Linked DNA regions of Homo sapiens: region 2 is linked to region 1. The links are contacts of gene promoters, found by promoter capture Hi-C in blood cells and fetal thymus (Javierre and others, 2016). All regions are on one chromosome and are shown on one strand. Each heading gives the region's core, a stretch centred on a gene start or on the middle of the fragment in contact. The rest is flanking DNA. Distances are from core to core; before and after follow the strand shown. Region 1 holds the start of NCOA2 (nuclear receptor coactivator 2). Region 2 holds the start of PEX2 (peroxisomal biogenesis factor 2).

Region 1 (3,465 bases), core at 439-2,938:
GAACATAATTCTATTATTCCAGCTAGCTAAAAAAAAAAAAAAAAAAAAAAAAAAAAAACCTTTAAAAATATACATTAATACATAGTCAATGCAAACATTTCAAACATTAGATAGGTGTGCAAAATAAAAAGTGGAAGTGCCTCATCACCCACTTCTTACACTCCCCAGCGCTAACATTTGTTGTTATAGGCTTCCAAGCATTTTCTATCCACAAACAAACACAGACACACACACCCCACACATTTTTTTTATTCTTTTCCCAAATAAAATTGGCGGTACACCCACAAATTTTAGGATGAAGACATGTTTAAAAGCATGGGCTTTGGAGCTCACCAGAACTGGGCTCACATCCTCTCCAACTACTGGCTGTGACCCTGGGCAAATTACTTTAAGCTTCAATTTTTTGTGTGAAGTGAAAAGCGGCAATGACTTCGGAAGGTTTGAGGATTAAGGCCTATAGCATATATACATCACCTAGCACAGTCAGATTCACAGTAAGTGTTCAATAAACACTCTTATTGTCTACCGCAAGTGACCTTTCTCATTATAAGATTAAAATCAGGGAATATGTTCCTCTCATAGTTTGATAACTGCCATTAAACAAAAGTTTTTTTTTTCAACTAATTACCGTATAAGTTGGAAAAAAAACTTGCTTTTCCAAAGCGTAAAACAGATTGGTCTAAGTAACACTTAAATGGGGGTTCTCGCATTTTCAGTGCCAATCTCCTACGTCCCCTCAGTACTTTGTTCACGGATGTCTAGAGAATGGACTTTCCAATACAAACTTATGATTTCATGATGTGCCGAAAATTCTCAACCAGGTTAAGTTTCACACTCTGTGTGCAGCATTTGCTTTATCCCGCAATTGCCGGGTGGTGCCCCTTCCAGCTCCCACAGTCGCGCCTCTCCATCCCCTCTGGAGCTAGGACTGCAATGGGAGAAGCCTCTCCCTGTTGGAGCCGTAGGGGACTTGACGGATGCGGGGCGCCTCCGGGGAGCAGCGGCAGGACCGGGAGTTGGGTAGGGTGAGGTGCGCCCGAGGGGGTGCAGGGTGCTGGCCGAAGGGTCCGGCCGGACGGGCGCGAGGGTCCTCTGCTGGCGACCCTGGAACTCGGCTCTCCCCGATCTTCGTCCTGGGGCACCGTCCCTGCCGTCTGCAGCCCCCAGGCCCCACTGCCTCTAACTCAGCGGCCCAGGCCCGTCCCAGTCGCTAGTTTTCTTTTTGGCATTGCCCTTTGCCCTCCCATGCAGTCCTCTGTTGACTCTCTCTTCAGTTCCAGTCACCTCTAGGTCACCCTCCCTCTACCACAGTCACCCATTTTGTCCCCTGTCCCCTTACTCTTCTTCACCTCTCCCCGGGCCGCCTTCTCAGAGGACTCTGCCGACGGAGATGCTGCGGACCCCGCGGCCAGGGGCTGCTCCCCGGACAACCCTGCGTCCACCTTTGCCCCTTCCTCGGGGGCGCGAGAGGCAAGTTTCCGCCCCGTCCTTTTCCCGGTGACAGGACTTGGCGGCGGCCACTGCCGGGGAGGCAGAGGGAGGGACGGCCTGGCTCCCGAGCCCCCTCCCCTGCTCGCGAGCTCGCGCTGTCTGTCTCTCCGCAAGTGCGGAGACGCGGAGGAGGAGGAGGAGGAGGAGGAGGAGGAGGGAGTTGGGGGAGGATCTCCATTGAAATAAACAACCAGGCAGCAGTTATTAACACGGGAACATGGCGGCCGCAGCCTCGGCTACAGCTTCGGCGGCGAAGGTCAGCGCCGACGGCAGCCGGCACCTGACGGCGTGACCGACCCGAGCCGGTAACCGCGCCTTCCCCCGGGGCCGCGAGGGCGGGCGGGGGGCGGGCGGCAGGCGGGGGGCGCCGCGTCCCCACCCCCGGCCGCGACTGCCCTTCCTGCGCCGAGCTCCGACAGAGCCGTGCGCCTCCGAGAGGCTGTTTTTGTGTGCGGGGACCGCCGCCGGAGTGCGCGGAAAACGGGAGTTGCATCCCGGAGGCGCAGCGACGCTGGGGAGTTGGGGCTTGGGGGTGGGGAGGGCGGGAAGCGACGGGGAGACGCGGAGTCCCCGGGAGAGAAAGGAGGCGCTCCAGCGCCTTGCGAGAGCTCAGGAGACGAGTCCCGGAGCGCGAGGCGGGCGGAGGCTGCAGCCCGCGGCGCGGGCGAGAGGTGAGCGCCGAGGCGCGGCCGGGGGTGCGGGCGCGGCCCCCGCCCCGAGGAGCGAGTGCCCATTGCCCAGCCCGGTGCGGGGTCGGCGGAGACCGAGGCTCTAACCCCTCGGGGGCAGCGCGGCAGAGCCGAGAAGGTGAATCCTGGGAAGGTGCATTCTTTAATGGAAGCGCGGAGCGGCTGCAGCGGAGAGTGGGAGCCGGGCGAGGGGAGGCAGGACTCGGGAAGTGCTGGGGGTGTGTGAAGGTGAAGCGGGGTGTCGGGGCGGCCGGCGAGCTGCAGCGCGGGGCGGGGAAGGGGAGCCGCGGCCCGGCGGGTGGCCCGGGCCCGTGTCAGCCCCGGGGGTGGGGGGCGAGGGGCGCCGAGCACCGCGGGCGGACGGGAAGGAGCTGCGGCGGGCGGGGCGGGCGGCGCGCTGGGGCCGAGCAGGCCGGGCCGTGGTGGGGGCGGGGAGCCGGGGGCCGGGCCCCGGCGGCGCCGAGCCGGGCTCGCCCCTGACTGAACTTTCTGGGTGCGGGCGTGTATGCAGGAGGCGCGCTGGGGCCGGGGCCGGGGGCGGGAGGCGGACCGGGAGGTTCCGGGTTGGCTCGCCAGCGCCCCCTTTTCTCGCCCCCTTCTCTCCGCCCCTGAAGGGACAGGCCCTCGGGGCCCCAGGCGGGAAGCGGGAGGGGCCCTGTGGCCGCCTCGCGACGGTCACGCCCCGGGCACGGGGACCCGGCCCTCTCGGGCCCCTGGGGGGTGCTGGGGGAGGGGGCCGGGGTCGTCGCTGCCGGCTGCGCTCCCCGCCTCCTCCCCTCGGGGGAGTCCCAGAGGCGCCTCTTCCGAGACCGGGGGTGGGTCGGTCCCTGGTTAGATGGCCCCTCCCTCTTCCCCTCCCTCTAGTGGTTTCCGGGGCCTGCGGGACCGAGGGGCGGGAATCGGGGACTGGAGCCCCCTTCCGCTGGCCCGGAGCTGGACTGGGCCTCCCGCGTTCTGGGTCCGTCACTGGTAGGGGAAACTTTCCCAAACCAGAGACCGAGCCTGAACACCTTCCTCCGCCACCTCGTCCTCTAATCCCACTCCCTCTCCACCTCCTCCGACGCCTTCCCCTCCCACCGACCCGAATCTCGGTGCGTCTGACTGATGGGGCAGTGAGCCAATCGAAGGCAGGGAGCTGACCTGCCGGGTGTCGGTGAGCCAATCGTGCGGACCGGAGGAAGGAAGGGGGCGGGGTTTCTCCTGACCAGTTAGAGCAGAGTTGCATGCGGGGCGGGGGAGTCATGGAGACGCTGAGAGCCAGCTACTCTTGTCCATCCCCGAGTCA
Region 2 (3,465 bases), core at 500-2,999, 6.6 Mb before region 1:
ATTCAAGTTTCTTGATATCTTTATTATTTTCATTCGCTACTGTGTGATGTTCACATGACATACATAAGGCTCTATGAACCAGAATTTGCTTTCTGAAAATGTCCTCTATGTCAATCAAGTCTTTGTGTGTATTTTCCCCCGTCCCTCTCAAAAATTAAGTGAAGCACAGCACATCTGTAGGCTACCTGAGAGGTGCAGCGTGGTTGGTTTTCTTCACAGTTGCTAAACGAAAGGCCTACTCTTCTTCAGTGAGATTTTTTTACTCTCTAGAACAGCAGTATCCATAGAAATATAATGGAAGCCACGTAATTTAAAATTTTCCAAAACATTCTCATTTTGACATGTAAGCAATATAAAATTAATGAAATACTTTACATTCTTTTTCTTTTCAGACCACGCTTTAGAAATCTGGTGCATGTTCTACACTTAGAGCAGACCTCAGTTCAGACTAGCCACTTTTCAGGTGGCCAGTGACTACTACACTGGACAGTTGCAGCTCTAGAAAATCCACTCCCAAACCCCTAAGTGAACTACATACTCTATCAATTTGTAGCTTCTACTCTATCTCATTTGTACCATTGTTTCACAATTTGGATAGCATTAGAGTTAATAAATTTTATTTTAGCAACTCTGCTCCATGGGTAGTTTCTGAAATAAAAATACAAGCAAAAAAAAAAAAACTTTCCTAATAACACTGGTTCTACAGTATAAGCTCTCCCTCGAATGTCTAATAGAGCTTTCGTAGAAGTGAGTGTTCCTTGTAGGAACGGTGAGTCGAGACTGGAGGTAAGAACTAAGACGTTCTTAAACCCTACTACGTGCTGGAATCCTGAAGTGCCTGCCATCATTCAAACTTAAGCACTAACTCTCTAGAGAGACACTGCCATTCATACCACAGAACGAGAAGGCAGTGGCGATCCTCAACGGCTACATGTCACTGCCTGGTGAGCACTCTTCCCTCAGACCCCATTCCCAGAAGCTCTGCCTCGATTCCCCAGGGGTAGGCGAGCTGGCTGCCCGAATTCCTAAGCGTTACCGGGGAGATGTGAGGGCCTCCGGGGGCGGGAAACCTCAGGCCAGGCGCGCGCTGGCCCGCTCTACGGGGTCTCTCGGGAGCGCTTTGCAGGGCGGATGACTGACGGGCCAGCTACCTGCCTTCCTGAGCCTGCAGAGATAAACAGCCTATCCTCCCTGTGCACACAGGCCCCGAGGGCGGGCAGGTCTCCAAGCGCAGCACAACTGCCCCAGGCCCGACGCAGCCACCTGCCCGAGGGCTCCCTCCCCACCAGGCCATCCCTCAGCCGGTCCTCCTCCGACAGCGAACAAGGAACCCCGGAGGCGCGGAGGCGTCTCGCCGCCACCCGGCGGCGCCTGCCAGAGGCCCTTCGCGATGTCCGCAAGCAGAGAAAGCCCTGCCCTCCCAAGCCCCGGCTTCCCCTAGGCCCCTCGACACTTGTAGTGTCCTCACTTGCGGCCCCTGACCCGGGGCTGACCGGTTCGTGACTCTCCTGCCAATCAGAGACAGAGTTCTTCCGGCCAACCGGCCAATCACCGCGCGCGGGTGTCCGCTTCGGCTTTTCGGCCCTTCGGCTCTTCGGCTTGTCGGCGTTCGCGGTTGTTTGGCCATCCAGTGCCTTCAGCAGCGCCGCTAAAGCGCAGTTCTCGTTGGTGTAACTTTTTCTTTTTTTTTTCAGCCACTTCCGGCTCCTGCGTCGCTCCGGAAGCCTGCGAGTTCCGGAAGCCTTGGTAATCCAGATTCGGCTAGGAAAAGACAAGCTTTCCAGAGAATGTTTCAGAGAAAGTTACGTGGAGCGTGGGCGTTTCGCAGACTCCTAAGGTCAGTGTCTGCCCTAGAGAGCCGGAGTGCAAACCCGAGGTCTTGTTTTCAGCTGGGAGGTCGTGGAGTTTCACGACCTTGTAATTGTCGCCGTTTGCTTTTTTTTCCCTGTTTATTGGCTTCCTGTCTCCCTGGAAAAGGCAAATCAAAGCTGCTGAATTTTGGGAAAGGCAGTGAAGCAAACCTAAACTCCTAAAGATGTTTTTAGGATCGCGGCATTAAAAATAAACACACACACAGCTGCAGTTGAGCCCCTCTGCATTCCACGTAGTAACTTAAGAGACGAACTTCGAAATCTTTTTCTCTCATTTGGCGGTCGTGAAGATATTTACCTCTTATAAACGGCTTTATAAAGAATTGAGGATCCAAACTTTACTTAATATCTGAAAGTTCATGTAAAGTGTTATATGTAGTACAAAAAATTTGAGTGCTTAGTTTTCTAACACTGTTGAAAGCGCACGTAAATGCAGTTTGGTTTTCTTATGGAGGAAGAGATAATGAAAAGTTTCTGATAAAATTGCTTGCGATAAATTAGTTATATTTCACGTTGACTTTTGATAAGAAATCTGAATGTGAGAATTGTTAACATTTTTTCCTGGGTTCTTAAATTAAAAATCGTTGTTTGTTTATTTATTGAGGTACCATTTTCCAAATTTCCCACATTTAGTGAAAGGGCTTTTGGCAAAATGAGCAAGCTGTTGAACGTTCAAGTCTAACACATTCTGTTAAACTTCCGTGATGCCCCTCGGAAATATTTTATCTTGACGTTTCGGACAATTAAATGATACTTGGGCGCTCACAACACCGCAGCTTGTAGTCTAAACACCTTCCCCTAAAGTGTTACCTTTACTTAATCCTGAACAGAATGAACTTGGGGTGGCTCTTTTAACTTATCTGATCTCACCTATATTATCAATTACTTGTTTCCAGAAAGATTACAGTTGAGTGATCTTGAGCCAGAAAGAGATTTGAAAGAATTATTTACAGAGTCAAAAAAAAAAACCCTTCATATTTTTTTCTTAAAAAAAAAAATAGAAGTAACAGGACATAGAGCGAATACTAGACTAGTAGACTGAAGAGTATTAGACTAAATCAAGACAGTTGGATTCTAGTCCTGACTCTAGTTGCCTTTGTACAATTTTACCTCTTGGCCGTATTCTCCTTATTTTTAGAAACTAGTGTTAGTACTCAAGCTGGGGTTTTAAAACTGTTCCATAGGAGAACTTGTGTAGAAATTTTCTGGAGCCGTGCAGGGAGAGACAAAGCAAGCCCACCCTCAGGTTTATTTTAACAAGAGCAGCCATTTAGGTGTTCCGCTTGAATAACAAGGTTCTTGTTAAGAAGATTAAATTTATGTCTTAAACGAGATGATCTGCCTTTTCTTCTAGCATTAAAATTCTGGTTTTTGGGATAATTATTCATTTGTACTCAATGTACATTTATTACAGTTTTTAAAAATAATATATTCACAGCTAATTTATTTCTAAAAGCTACAAATATGTCCCTATTCTGTTTCAATTTATTTTATCAATACAAATTTGAAATGTTTTTCTTTATGAACAGAATTAGAATTTATTATTCCTTCTTCTCCATATCCTTTTATTTTAGCCATAAAAGTTTTGCTTATA

The links. Contacts are between HindIII fragments. The CHiCAGO score rates a contact against its expected background, and 5 or more counts as called.
Region 2: the fragment with the promoter of PEX2 here is called in contact with the fragment with the promoter of NCOA2 in region 1 in 1 of 17 cell types (non-activated CD4 T cells); the score reaches 10.8 in non-activated CD4 T cells.

What each region holds. Positions count from the first base shown.
Region 1 is chr8:70,402,031-70,405,495 of GRCh38, reverse strand. NCOA2 (nuclear receptor coactivator 2) reads left to right here and starts at 1,688. Exons shown (of 23, transcript NM_006540.4): 1 at 1,688-1,796. RefSeq lists silencers at 912-1,071, 1,762-2,071, 2,112-2,401, 2,432-3,091 and an enhancer at 1,172-1,291. The HindIII fragment of the contact is 4,231 bases long and covers 396-3,465 here.
Region 2 is chr8:76,998,362-77,001,826 of GRCh38, reverse strand. It overlaps PEX2 (peroxisomal biogenesis factor 2), which reads left to right and starts at 1,749. Exons shown (of 4, transcript NM_000318.3): 1 at 1,749-1,837. RefSeq lists an enhancer at 1,460-1,754. The HindIII fragment of the contact is 1,935 bases long and covers 1-1,778 here.